Regions from separate parts of the Homo sapiens genome. Here region 2 is linked to region 1. Evidence: promoter capture Hi-C in human tissues and cell types (Jung and others, 2019). All regions are on one chromosome and are shown on one strand. Each heading gives the region's core, a stretch centred on a gene start or on the middle of the fragment in contact. The rest is flanking DNA. Distances are from core to core; before and after follow the strand shown. Region 1 holds the start of CLUH (CLUH binding protein of NUMT mRNA). Region 2 overlaps SGSM2 (small G protein signaling modulator 2).

Region 1 (6,764 bases), core at 1,298-3,797:
ACGCCCCAGCCAAGGCCTCAGCAAGTGAGGCTCCAGCAGGAAGTAGGGTCCGAAAAGGTGCATCACCCGTCCCGGGAGCCCAGGGCTTCAGGGAAAGGCAATGGGGCGGGCAGGCGGCCTATGGAAGAACCTACAGACCAGGCACCTGTTTGCCTCCTTCCTGTCCCACCCAGGCCAGAGGCAGGCGTTCAGGGCCTGAGGACAGTTCAGAGTTCCTCAGGCTGCTCTCCCCACATCCCATCCAAGATCCTGTTGCGGAGCTCCCATAAGCCCCTAGACTCCTTCCCCAGCTGCCAGCCTCCTCCTCCTCCCCCTCTGGGCCTCAACTCCAGGGAGCCCTCCCCTGGGCAGAAGGAACCTGACGCACCACTGTGGACCTGAAAAACCTGCCTGTTCTCTTAACCCCTAAAAGCCGCTGTATTCCCAGGAAGGTAACCAACCCTTGCCCCCGACCCTCAATGGCCTAGATCAGCTCCTTCCTAAGGGGGCTGAAGAGCCTTCCAGAGCTGGATCTCAGAGGTCAGAAGCCTTGGTTCTGATGCTCAGGTGGGCCCCAGCTGGGGGGTCTTCATTAAGGCTCCTTCCTTCTTTCAATAGATCCGGGCTGGCTGTAACGTAAGTCCTAGCTAGCTGTACTACCTTCCCAGGGACGTAGGAGCCCATGTCCTGCCCACGAGTATGCTCCCAGTTTCCCCAAAACAAATAGCTGTGCCCTTCCCTGACTCAGTTTACCCCCGACAGAGCCCCCCCACCCCCAGCAGAGTTAGGAAGGGGCTTCACTGACTCCCTCACAGAAATCCTCCAACAGACGCTCGTCAGCCCCCTAGTTCTCAGCACGGGATCCAAACCAACACGCCTGTCCCAGCTTCCTCTGGGCCAGGCCACGGCAGCCTTGGCTTGCTGGCCATGAGCTGGAATCCAAACACTTCCCTTAACAGCTAAATCGCTGTGTGACCTTGGGCAAGTCACTTCGACTCTTCGGGTCTCTGCTAGAGGGGAAATCAGCCAACCTCCTCTCATCCAGCCTGCCCCCACTGATTCAGAGCCACATCAGCACAAAGCCTGGTAGGTTGGGGCGATGAGCATCTGCTCTTCTGCCCAAACCTTGGCCTTGTCTAGACAATCAGCAGTACTGCCCCAGCACCTGTCCCTCACCCCAAGGCAACTCCGCTATGATGGGAACAGGGTCAGAGGGCTGAACGCTGTCCCCATCCTGATTCCCAAGTCAGCCCTGGCGCACTCACTGAAGCTAGGAAGGGAGATGATGAGGCGTTAAGACCACAAGTCCCAACTGAGGACAGTCGACGGAGGAGGGAGGGACTGGGGGACAGGAGTAGCTCTGCACCTCCACTGCCACCCAGAGCAAAGAGGGCCTGAGGAAGATGACGACTGAGGGCCTGGGAAGGGGATTCCAGCCCCAAGGCTGGAGTCTGAGACACGGTGGAGGGAACAGAAGGAAGAGAAGGGGCTCAGGAGAAAGGGAAAGCAGGCCCCACCCGAGACAAGCTGCAGCCACTGCCACAGTCACCACCATACAGCCCCCATGGGGGATCGCTGGGAGCTTGACTCCACACTAACGACCTTTGCCTTAAAAACAGCAACTCTGGTCTGACCCACTTTTCGCAATAAGGCAGGTTAATGATCAAGTTCTGGCACAAACACTTCCCCCTGCCAAGGAGTTTGGCTCTGCCCCATGCAAAGGCAGACGCCCCCTACACCAGGTCGGCCGAGCAGGCCAACACACCTGAGAGTCTCCGCCACAGCCTGAAGACCTGCGGTTATAGCCTGGCCTCAGGGCATGAACCAGGGACGCCCCTCACAACGCACACCCCGCACCTCGTGCTCTTCCCACAAACCAAGCCTGGGAAGCCTCGAGCGGAGCTTCACTCCCAGGGCTGCAGCCCTGCGCACAGGGGATGCCTGGGAGGCCGCCGCGGAGCAGGTGCCGAAGGGGGCTGTCCCGCAAACGTCGGAGCGACCCCAGCTCAGAGAGCTCCCATGCTCGGGCGCAGAGGGGGTGGGGCCGCCGATTCTTTCGGTCTGCGGCGGCGGCGCACCCCGAAACCGCGTGTGCGCGCACGTGTCCCCGCGATGAGGCGCGCGTGTGCCCGCCGAGGGTGCCAGCCGAGGCTGCCCTCCACGGGACCGCACGTGCGAAACCCGGGCCGCAGCCGGGGGCGACTGTGAAGGTGACCTTCAGCGCGGGGGCGACCCGGTGAAGGCCCCAGCGAGATACAACCGGGCCCGACGCGGAGGGAAGGCGGCGATCCCCGCGGAGTCCCGAACCCGCCCGCCCTGGTCCGGCGCCCCCCGCCCAGCGGCCCGCTGGCCCTGGCCCCGCTCACCGGCCGCGCCCGGCCGCCCCTTGCCCCCGGCCTGCGAGCCGTGTTCCCGGGCGCTGTCGGCCGGGGCGGCCGCCGGCAACTCGTCCGTCTTGATAACCATGGTGGCGGGAGCGGGCGTCCGCCTCGGCTGTCCGCGCCGCCCGCCGCGCCACTAACCCAAGTGCCCTGCGCGCCGCGGCTGCTGAGGGAAGGACGGAGTCACCGGCCCACGTGGTGCGCGCCGTGGCCTTTGACCCCGCCGCCGTTTCCCTGCCCCACCCTCGCGCCCGGCCCAGCCCACGGCGGCCCGCGAGGGACAAAACGCGCCGCGCCTGGTTCCCCGCCCACGGACGCGGTGACTTTCCAGAACGTCTTAAAGGCAACGCACTCTGACTCAAGGCCCAGGGAGGCTGGGCGCCCTCGCGGGGCGGGGCCTCGGGGAGACTCCCTGCTGCTCGCTGCCCGTCGGGCGGGCACTGTGACCTTGGGTGGAGACTGGTCTGGTTCTGCCATGGCTAATCCTCCCCTCTCCAAGGATCCCCTGTTTTCTCTTGCAGATTTGCTAAATGACCGCGCAGTCTGTCATCTGCGGTGTTCGCGTGACCCTCAGCGCCCTCCCCACCCGGCAGGCCCTTTCCCGCCGAATGGGTGCGGCTGGATTATTGAGGGAGTGGAGGGTCGCTTAGGGCACGGGCACGAGAGGCGAGGGCGAGACGTGGCTAATGGGGATCAAGAGTCAGAATGGACCCGCCAAACTTTGCCCCGAGCCAGAACGGGCTCCCTACCCGCGTCCTCGACCCATGGGTCCTCACCTCCAGGCTGGTGTCCTCATTTTACAGTGGAGGAGGCCGAGACCAAGGTCACACAGAGAGCAAGGGGTAGAGCCGGGTCTGACTCCATCCACAGCCAGGACGCTTTAACTCGTATTTTTCACTTGGCAGGGGCTTGGCGGGGACGGAACGGTGAGGTCAGAGAATGCTGCAGAGGGGACATTGGGACCAGGTCTTGCAGTGAGTTGAAGTGCTCCAGGCAGAGAGCGCCGGTGGGTCTTTCCTGGCCAGGCCGCAGGGGGCCTTTGGGAAGCACCCGAGGCCTATAACCTTCGGAGCGTTTGTCAAGCTCTAATGAGAACTGGAAAGCTTCAGCTTCCCGAGGTGGGCTGGGAGGGCCTTAGGTAGGGCCTCGCACAAATTGCGAAGGAAAGCCGACCTTGTTCTGGAGAGCACGTGGTGAGGAAAGCCAGCGACTTGATGTGAGCATTTAAACGGGAGGAAGGAAGATGAGAACTGGTAAGATTCTTCTCGGCCGGGCGGTGCAGCGGCTCACGCCTGTAATCCTAGCACTTTGGGAGGCCGAAGCCAGGCGGATGACTTGAGTTCAGGATTCGGAAGTTTGAGACCAACCTGGGCAACATTTCAAAACCCCCGTCTCTACAAAAAATATTGTTTAAAAAAAGCCAGGTGTAGTGGCACGCGCCTGTAGTCCCAGCTACTTGGGAGCTGAGCTGGGAGTATCACTCAGGACGGCTCAGATTGAGCCCAGGAGTTCCAAGCTGCAGTGAGCTATGATCGCACCACTGCACTCCTGCCTGGGTGACACAGACACCGTCTCAAAAAAAAAAAAAAAAAAAAAGCCGGGCGCGGTGGCTCACGCCTGTAATTCCAGCACTTTGGGAGGCAGAGGCGGGCGGATCACGAGGTCAGGAATTAGAGACCAGCCTGGCCAAGATGGTGAAACCCCGTCTCTACTAAAAATACAAAAATTAGCTGCGCATGGTGGTGTGCGCCTGTAGTCCCAGCTACTCGGGTGGCTGAGGCAGAAGAATCGCTTGAACCCAGGAGGTGGAGGTTGCGGTGAGCCGAGATCGCGCCATTGCACTCCAGCTTGGGCAACAAGAGAGAAACTCCGTCTCAAAAAAAGAAAAAAAAAGTGTGCATATATATATATAGTGTGTGTATATATATATAGTGTGTATATATAGTGTGTATATATATAGTGTGTGTATATATATAGTGTGTATATATATAAGTGTATATATAAAATATATATATTTATAATCAATATATATAAAAGTGTGTATATATGTGTGTATATATACACATACATACTTATGTGTGCGTGTGTATATACGTATGTGTATACACACACTCGTTCCTCTTTTGTTACACAAATGTGCAGAAAATTGTACCTGCTATTCTTCACTCTGATTTTTTTTTTACACGCTTTCAGTAGGTGTTCTCATTCCATTTACGCTGGATAATGTTGTATTGTTTGGTTGTACCATAATTCTTTTAGCCGGTCACCTGACTGATGGGTACTTAGTTTGTATTCATGAAACTCCAGGGTTTTTGAGAATTGTGCCTAGTGGCCCAGTGCAGCTGAAGTTGGAAGCCCGTGCATGTTGCTAATGCTACTCATAATAGGAAGCTCAGTTTTAACCCTGGGGGTTGGGGAAGAGCAGCAAGCCTGGGGTTAGAGAAACAGACACGTATAAAAAGCATCATCCAGCCGAGTGCGGCGGCTCACGCCTGTAATGCCAACACTTTGAGAGGCCGAGGAGAGCAGATTGTATGAGCTCAGGAGTTGGACACCAGCCTGGGCAATATGGCAAAACCTCATCTCTACAAAAAATACAAAAATTAGCTGGGTGTGGTGGTGTGCGCCTATAGTCCCTGCTACTCAGGAGGCTGAGGTAGGAGGATCACTTGAGCCCAAGAGGTTGAGGCTGCAGGATCTCGCCACTGCACTCCAGCCTGGGCGACAGAGCAAGACCCTGTCTCAAAAAAAAAAAGAAAGCAAAGAAAGAAAAGAAAAGAAAAAAAAATCATCCTCTGATCACATTCTCCATAGTCTGGTGGTCTGACCTCTGACCACACATTAAGCAGACTGATTCTTGCTTTCACACAGCTTCCACCAAAGTCTTTTCATCATAGTCTTTTTTTGGGACAGCATCTCGCTGTGTAGCTCACGTTGGAGAACAGTGGCAAGATCTCAGCTCATTGCAACCCCGCCTCCCGGGTTCAAGCGATTCTCCTGCCTCAGCCTCCCTTGTAGCTGGGACTACAGGCGCCCGCCACCATGCCCGACTAATTTTTGTATTTTTAGTAGAGAGGGGGTTTCACCATGTTGGCCAGGCTGGTCTTGAACTCCTGACCTCAGGTGACCTGCCCACCTTGGCCTCCCATAGTGCTGGGATTACAGGCGTGAGCCACCGCACCCGGCCTCCATCATAGTCTTAACAGCACATACTCCCATTTTCCCCAGCTATTTCCACCATTGCCTATAACAATGTGCTATGGTTAAGGTGATCGCATAGTTTATCATTAAAACCAGAACACTTTTGAGAGTGCAAGTGGAACCTATTAATAATGACACAGGGGCAATAGGCATAAATTGAGACCCTCTTGGCCATACTGGGATGTCTGGGTCTTGGGTGAGGAGTCCAGCTGCTAGACCCGGGGACTTTGTTATTTTTTATTTTTTTTTGATATGGAGTCTTGCTCTGTCGCCCAGGCTGGAGTGCAGTGACGTGATCTCAGCTCATTGCAACCTCTACCTCCCGGATTCAAGTGATTCCCTGCCTCAGCCTCCCAAGTAGTTGGGATTACAGGCATGCGTCACCATGCCCGGCTCATTTTTGTATTTTTAGTAGAGATGGGGTTTCACCATGTTGGTCAGGCTGGCCTCGAACTTCTGACCTCGTGATCCGCCCGCCTTGGCCTCCCAAAGTGCTGGGATTACAGGCATGAGCCACCGCGCCTGGCCGACCTGGGGACTTCTTGAAGGCAAGAACCATAACTTATTTATCTGGGTGTTCCCAGCATCTTTCCAGAGCCCAATGCATGGTAGGTGTTTAATGCACATTTATTTATTTTTAATTTTATTTTTAGAGACAGGGTCTCATTCTGTTGCCCAGGCTGGAGTGCAGTGGCATGATCACGGCTCACGGAAGCCTCCAACTTATGGGCTCAAGTGACCCTCCCGTCTCAGTTCCCTGAGTAGCTGGGATTACAGGTGCACACGACCATACCCCACTTAATGCACATTTGTTGACTGAGTGAATGATTTCAGTGTAGAAGGTGCCAGGCCCTGAGGGCTCCACAGGATGTGGGGGGGCAGCATTGCTGGCAGCCTGGGGTTTCACCTTTGAGCCCCCCATTATTTATTTATTTATTTATTTTTTGAGACGGAGTTTTGCTCTTGTTGCCCAGGTTGGAGTGCAATGGCTCAATCTTGGCTGACCACAACCTCTGCCTCCCAGGTTCAAGCAATTCTCCTGCCTCAGCCTCCCCAGTAGCTGGGATTACAGGCATGCGCCACCAGGCCTGGCAAATTTTGTATTTTTAGTAGAGATGGGTTTTAGTAGGGTTTTAGTAGAGTTTAGTAGGGTTTTAGTAGAGATGGGTTTAGTAGAGGTGGTTTCTCTATGTCGGTCAGGCT
Region 2 (6,676 bases), core at 2,741-5,240, 330 kb before region 1:
AACTCTCATAGATCATAGTTTGGGGAACTTTTTTCAAACCAAAGCATTCCTGAGCACCAAGATGGGAGGCCTGTGACAGCTGCCCGGCTGAAGTGCAGGCAGAGTCTGCAGGAACCCAGTGTGCAGAAATTACCCAAGAAAAGGATGGGGCCTTGGTACGGGGTACAGAACCCCCATTCCTGAGCCAGGCTCTGTGTCATGGAGAGAATCCCACGACTTTGGCCCCTGAAGCTCTGATCCCTCACCTGGCTCCATTTAGAGGCCTGTGAGCAGCCAGTCCGGCCAGCATCAGCCCCAGCCCCAGCCTCAGCCTCAGCCTCAGCCCCAGCCTCAATCCCAGCCTCAGCCTCAATCCCAGCCTCAGCCCCAGATATGCGGCTAGGACGGGTGAGCAGCAGCCGCTTACTCTCCGCAGAACTGCTGTATGAGGATGTGTTTGCTGTGTGGGAGGTGATCTGGGCAGCCAGGCACATCTCATCGGAGCACTTTGTCCTGTTCATCGCCCTCGCCCTGGTGGAGGCCTACCGAGAGATCATCCGTGACAACAACATGGACTTCACTGACATCATCAAGTTTTTCAATGGTACGAGCTGGTCCAGCCATCCAGGCTGCCCTGAGCAGAGGTGTGGAGGCCCCCACCTCTGCCCCGCACACAGCTGGAGGGTTCTCAGGAATCCTGGGGGCCCTTCCCCAAAGGCCGGGATGTCAAGAATCTAGCAGAGCAGATGGAAACAGAGCAGGGTAGTCAGCCACCTCCTAGCCTGCTGCCCTTTCTCTGGGCCTCTCTACAGCTCTTCACGTTTCCCCCCAGAACGTGCTGAGCATCACGATGCCCAGGAGATCCTGCGGATTGCCCGGGACCTCGTCCACAAGGTGCAGATGCTCATAGAGAACAAGTGAGCTGGGGCCAGGAGGCAGCAGCCGTGCAGAGCCTGGGCTCCGGCAGGGAGAGGTGCAGGGGAGTCACCGCCCAGACCTCCCCAGCCACCAACCGACCCCACCTCTGTTCCTAACAAAGCGGTTGTGAGCCTGGATCCGACTCCCGGCAGTGCTGACCCTGCAGGGCAAGTCAGGGGCCAGGATGCCCTCGGATCAGGGCCGGGATGGGAGGGGTCAGCCTCAGGGAGCAGCTGCCTTGGGGGACACACCTACTCTGCTCCCCTCTCACACATCTGGGAGTAGCCCCACTGCCACCTGCAGCCGCAGCCTGGACTGCTGCCCACGAGTGAACCTGGGGCCCCACAGGATTAACAGGGGCTATAGCGGCCTGGGCCCTACTCAGCTGGGGTGGCAGAGGGCGAGAGGCTCTGTGCTGTGTCCCTTCTGAGGGTCCCTTTGCAGTCCCAGTATATTGTGCGTGCACCAGCCCCAGCTGGAGCAACCAAAACTGCTTCTGGTTTAGGCACACGTCACGGGTGCGGGAGACCCGGGCACGGGAGACCCGGGCCGCCTTCAGGCCGCTCCCCCGAGATTCTGGGGCAGTCGGAAGATGTGGGCCCTGGGTGGGAGCAGCCCACTTCAGCAGCACTGCCACTGCCTTTGGCCACCTGAGGTGACCCCCAGGCCTCCCCGGCCTTGTACAGTGTACCTCTGTGTATCTGTACAGCCTCGCTCCTGCCACCCCACCCTTGCGTTCTGCATTAGGTACTTCCCTGAAAACCACGTGTAAGAAGTGATGCTTTTGCCAGTGGATGATCTGGAATGCGACCGGAGCACTTGCTCTGAGGAATCCCAGGGTGACTCTGTCGGGGAAGAATCCGGTCACAGCCTCCCCTCAGAGACAGGCCTCAGTTCGAGGGCAGCCCATTATCTGTCGCAGACATCTGCCATGTCCCTGAGACTGCGGGAGGCAGGGGATGCATGGGTGTCCCCATCTGTCCCTGGTGAGAAGCAAGGCTAGCTCTGCCTTCCACATGCTTCTCAGGATGCCAAGAGGCCTAGGAACCCAGAAACCCCCTTGGAGGAGCTGTGTATGCGGGGGTGCCAGGAAGGGCATAGCTCCTGCCCCCAGGCCTAGGCATGCTGCTTGCTCGGCCATCCCCACTTCCTCCTCTACCCCAACACATGCAGGCTAGGCCTTGCCCTGGAACATGGAGGCCCTGCCCGGGGCTGGGGCCTAGTCCAGCAGCCACCAAAGTCTGGCAGACTTTCTGCATTTGAGAAACATGACAAAGGGCCCCGCAGCCCTTCTGCACCCAGCACAGCCTGCCCAGCCCAGCCCTGCCCCCGGGCACTGCACAGCCTGTCTGGGGGCCAGACCACCCCATTGTCCATCCTTGTTGTCCGTGAGTCCTTGGCCTCCACCAAGCACGTGTGGCCATTGTGTGCCTGCCTTAGTGACTCCGTGGTTTTGTGAGGAGCAGAGTGTGTATGATTTTTGCCTCAGAAACTATACTCTTCTGTGTAACAGACCAATAAACAACATTTGTCAACACTGGAGCCTCTGGGACTGGACACTGAGAGACCACGTGCCTTCTTTAAGCTCCACAGTCGGCCAGCCCCAAAAGGCGAGGACGGCAAAAAACTAAAGTTTCCAAGAGAGGTACTCCAGCCGCCAGTCTGGAGGGTGTGGGCTGGTCAGGAAGTCAGGGTGATTTGATAGCCAAACCTCAAGTACTCAGCGCCCTTGAGGGGACCTCACCCCAGAGTCATGGCCCCATCTCACGATGACCAGTGGCCCCTCTAGCCTGTGGATGAGAGAAGGTCCCTGTCCCATCCCTACCCCCTGCCTGCCCTACTGACCAGGCTGCAATGAGAAGCTGGAGCTTGACTATGCCACTGCAGCTGATGGCAACGGAGCTGCCCCTGTGGGTGTGGCTCTCACCCCGAGCACTGTCTGAGAGGCCGGAGGGGAGTGTCAGGAGGAGTCAGACCCTGCTGAGCTATAGACAGGCCCAGCTGTAACGGGTCTGCACCTCTCTTCCTGCCCTTCCCCAACCCGAGTGCTACTGGTCCCATCGTCGATGGCTCCAGGGAGAAGACACCAGTCACACAACATGTCTTCTACCCTAGAGGACACTGGCTTCCTGGACATTAGGGCCTGTTTTCCACTCACTCAAAGCTGAAGACCCCAGCCCATGGTCCTAGCAGGCTGAACCCAGCTTTATTATACAGAGAGAGAGACAGACAGATAGACAGACACAGAGTCTTGCTATCTCTCCCAGAATGGAGTGCAATGGTATGATCATGGCTCACTGCAGCCTTGAACTCCTAGGCTCAAGCGATCCTCCCAACTCAGCCTCCCAAGTAGCCAGGGATGCAGGCCCCCATCATGGCAGTTTTTCTATCTTTTTGGTAGAGGCAGAGGCTCACTGTTGCTCAGGCTAGTCTTGAACTCTGGCCTCAAGCAGTCCACCCACTTGGCCTCCCGAAGTGCTGGGATTACAGGCTTGAGCCACTGCATCTGGCCCTGAACCCAGCTTTTAGGAAAGAGTGCAAACTAGTGGCCAGAGCTACCCAAAGAAACCAGTTGGTGCAGAGAGAGCTCTGGGGCCAGGGAACTTGATGAGCCCTTCAGGGGAACACCCCCGACCCGCCAGCCGACTCTGTTGCCTGGAGGAGTCAGAATTCCTTTGCTGTGACCACCTAAAGGAAATTTCACCTAGCCTGGGAGTAACCCTTCACACACTTCCGTCCTGCCCTACTCCCCCTGACTACTGGACTGGGATCCTGGGACCAGAGGGGATCCCACAGCTTTTCAAAACGATGGGACAGCTGGGGCGGGAAGAGCAAGCAGCACAGTGGGCTCTCCAAACACCATCTCAAGGAACCTTTGCAATCTGGAAAGTCAGGTCTTCCTCTTACAGAGCAGGAGCTGGTAAATGGAAGCACCTGGATTCATACTTTATCCTGACCACAGGCCCCTTTCTTATAAGCTCCAGCTGAGCCATGGGTGAGTGAGAACTGTGGGTGAGGGGGAGCTTTGAGTACAGCTTCTGCCTAAAGATTTAGTGACAGCCCTCAGATGACAGCCAAGTTATCACTGCCTGGGGAGGGTCTTCATCTGTGTTCCCAGTGGGCACAGGGCCTGGCACTGAGCATGCACCCAGGAAGGGTTAACCCTCACCCTATCCCTTCCCTAAAGCGTCGCTTAGTGAGCTAATGGAAGTGACCCAGCTCTTCCAGGAGCTACCAGCAGAGGGAGCCCGCGTCTCACAAGTAAAAAGGGCAGGCTCAGTAGGGAGGGCTGGATTCCGAACTTTCATTTTAATTAAAAAAATTTTTTTTGAGACAGAGTCTCGCTCTGTCTCCCAGGCTGGAGTGCAGTGGCGCAATCTCGGCTCACTGCAGCCTCCACCCCCCGGGTTCAAGTGATTCTCCTGCCTCAGCCTCCTGAGTAGCTGGGATCATAGGCATGCACCACCATGCCCGGCTCATTTTTGTATTTTTAGTAGAGAAGGGTTTTTGCCATGTTGGCCAGGCTGGTCTCGAACTCCAGACCTCAGGTGATCTGCCCACCTAAGCCTCCCGAAGTGCTGGGATTACAGGCGTGTGCCACCGTGCCCGGCCTGAACTTTTTGAAGTCAACTCTTCTCTTTCAGAAAACAGGACCCAAGACAGCACTCCCTTCCTCAAGGATAACCCCTACCCACCCCACCTCAGGAAGAGACGCAGAGTCAGTCTCCCCTGTGGGGACTGGGAGTCAGTCAGGTACTGTCAGGGTGGAAATGAGAAGCTGGGCCCCCTTGCCCAGCCTGGTCTCCAGCAAGGCCTAGCTAGTGGCTCCCTGACCTCACTTCCCACACCACCTCCTCCCATGACAGCCTGCCCAGGGAGAGAAGACACAGCCACAGGGACAAGGGGCTTCCAGCCCAGCTGAGAACACGGCTCTTTGCCCCTGACCTCCAGCCTCTTCTTCCCCTTGTTCCTTTCCCTTAGAGGACAGCTTTATGGACTCCCCGGCTGACCTGTTGTAACTGCACCCCCAGAGCAGCCCCTCAGGAAGCTCTCACCCTCTGTGCCCAATCCCTGGGGCAACTCCCCTGTACCTTTTTTATTGGATCCGAGTCTAGGACTGGCCCCAGGTGCCACAAGGGTGGCAGATGCTGGGTAAGAACTCTGTACCCAGTTCAGAGGTCTGACTGCAGCTCCAACGAAGTCTCCAGCTAGCCGTGTGGCCTCAACAAGTCACTGGGCCACCTCAATCCTGTTTCCTTATCTGCCAAAATGGGGCTAAGTCTGGCTTATTTACTTCACTTGGCTGTTGAAAGATGAAACAAGATAATGCTTGTAAAATGGTCTGAGGAAATACGAAGCTTTGCAAAAGTTTCAGACCGACCAGAACTGCCATTTTCAGAGCGGCGGAGGCACCGGGTCAGAGCCGCTTGAGGACTATGCTGGGCAGACAGGGTCGAGACAGGTGATCTCACCGCTCCTGCCACATGCTTCCCTACAGGCCTCAGCCTCCTTTTGCAATAAAATGACCCAGATGCTGCAGGCTGGCAGCTCCATCTCAGGTTTCAGTGCAGGTTTATTTCAGTTTTATATTTTATTCCAGGCAAGTGCTTATTACATGGATAGTATTCATGTCTCGGTAACTAAAGTCTTGGAGCATGAACAGCCACTAGAATACAGTTCAATAGTAAAAATACAGTATGTACAAAATTAGGGTTTTTGTAGTTTTTTTTTTTTTCCACACAGCAGATGTATCCAAACACATAAAAATCTCTACAGTCTGGGGTCGCTACAGTTTATATTTCAGGAAACAGAGACACAGTGGCCGAGTCCTCACTGTAAACAAGGGCCACCTCTGGGGGTTGGGGGTGGGACCCTGGGATGGGGGGAGAAGCAGCTGTTTCTGGAGAGAGAAGGGGTCATGGTGGCCCCCCAGTTACCCTCCAGGCATTCCCTGCCTTCTTTGGCCCCCCAAGGAACCAACCTCCCCCTCTCCCCGAGGTAAGGACTCCCAGCCAGTGAGCCACTCTGAACATCAAAAGGTAAAACACGCATGAGAGGTAAGATGTGTGCGTGTGCGTGCGTGTGTGTGTGTGTGTGTGTGTGTGTGTGTCCCAGGCTGGAAGGGCTAGGGAGGGAGGGCCAGGCGGTCCCACAGGGTGAGGACAGATGTGGTCCCGACAGCACTCTGGGGGAGACGCCCAAGGAAGGGCTGGGTGGTGACTGCCCACTTGGGCACACAGCATCACAGCGTTCACAAACGACAAGAAAAACAGCAACACCCATCGTCACCAATCTGGACATAGTCATTCGGCACTAGATTTGCAGGCCCCCGATGCTGGGGGACAGGGACGGGGAGGGGCAGCGGGTGGATGATGAGGTATCTGTGCAGGCCCGGGGGCCACTGGCCTCAGGATGCAGGGAGAGGTGGGCAGGCTGAGGGGAGGGGCGAGCTCCACGAGGCTGCTCTAACTGCCCCGTGGGTCAGGCCTGCCATCGCTGTCACAATGGGAATAGCAAAGCTGGCTCTCCCAGAGCCACGGGGTCTGGCGGAGGTGGCTGTGCTGGGGTGGGTACAGGGCTCAGCCTCTGAGGATGGTGACCTGGTTTGTAACTGTCCCTTTACCCACACCAGGAGAGAGAAATAAGGAACAGTCCCCTGGGAGGTGTCCAGGACCAGGAGGGAACAGGAAGGGAATTTTTAGGCATCTAAGGATTCTTTATTTCCAGAGAAAATCTATTCAAGACCTTTGCTGACCTCCTCTGTGCCTGCAGGGCACTC

What was found. The method cuts DNA at HindIII sites, captures the fragments that hold promoters and counts their contacts. A contact is called where the count stands out against the background at its distance.
Region 2: a fragment that was not itself captured here is called in contact with the fragment with the promoter of CLUH in region 1 in 2 of the 25 tissues and cell types used here (dorsolateral prefrontal cortex and spleen).

What each region holds. Positions count from the first base shown.
Region 1 is chr17:2,709,217-2,715,980 of GRCh38, forward strand. CLUH (CLUH binding protein of NUMT mRNA) reads right to left here and starts at 2,548. Exons shown (of 26, transcript NM_001366661.1): 1 at 2,346-2,548. The coding sequence starts at 2,445. LOC105371592 (a long non-coding RNA gene) reads left to right here and starts at 3,093. Exons shown (of 2, transcript NR_136412.1): 1 at 3,093-3,183; 2 at 3,266-3,617. RefSeq lists enhancers at 1,107-1,186, 2,021-2,917, 2,918-3,813 and silencers at 2,427-2,546, 2,677-2,856. The HindIII fragment of the contact is 23,363 bases long and covers 1-6,764 here.
Region 2 is chr17:2,378,621-2,385,296 of GRCh38, forward strand. SGSM2 (small G protein signaling modulator 2) reads left to right here. Exons shown (of 24, transcript NM_014853.3): 23 at 416-583; 24 at 812-2,434. The coding sequence ends at 900. It overlaps MNT (MAX network transcriptional repressor), which reads right to left. Exons shown (of 6, transcript NM_020310.3): 6 at 5,453-6,676. Among named protein-coding and RNA genes, the nearest start is that of MNT, 19 kb to the right of the region's middle. RefSeq lists an enhancer at 4,201-4,410. The HindIII fragment of the contact is 4,866 bases long and covers 1,558-6,423 here.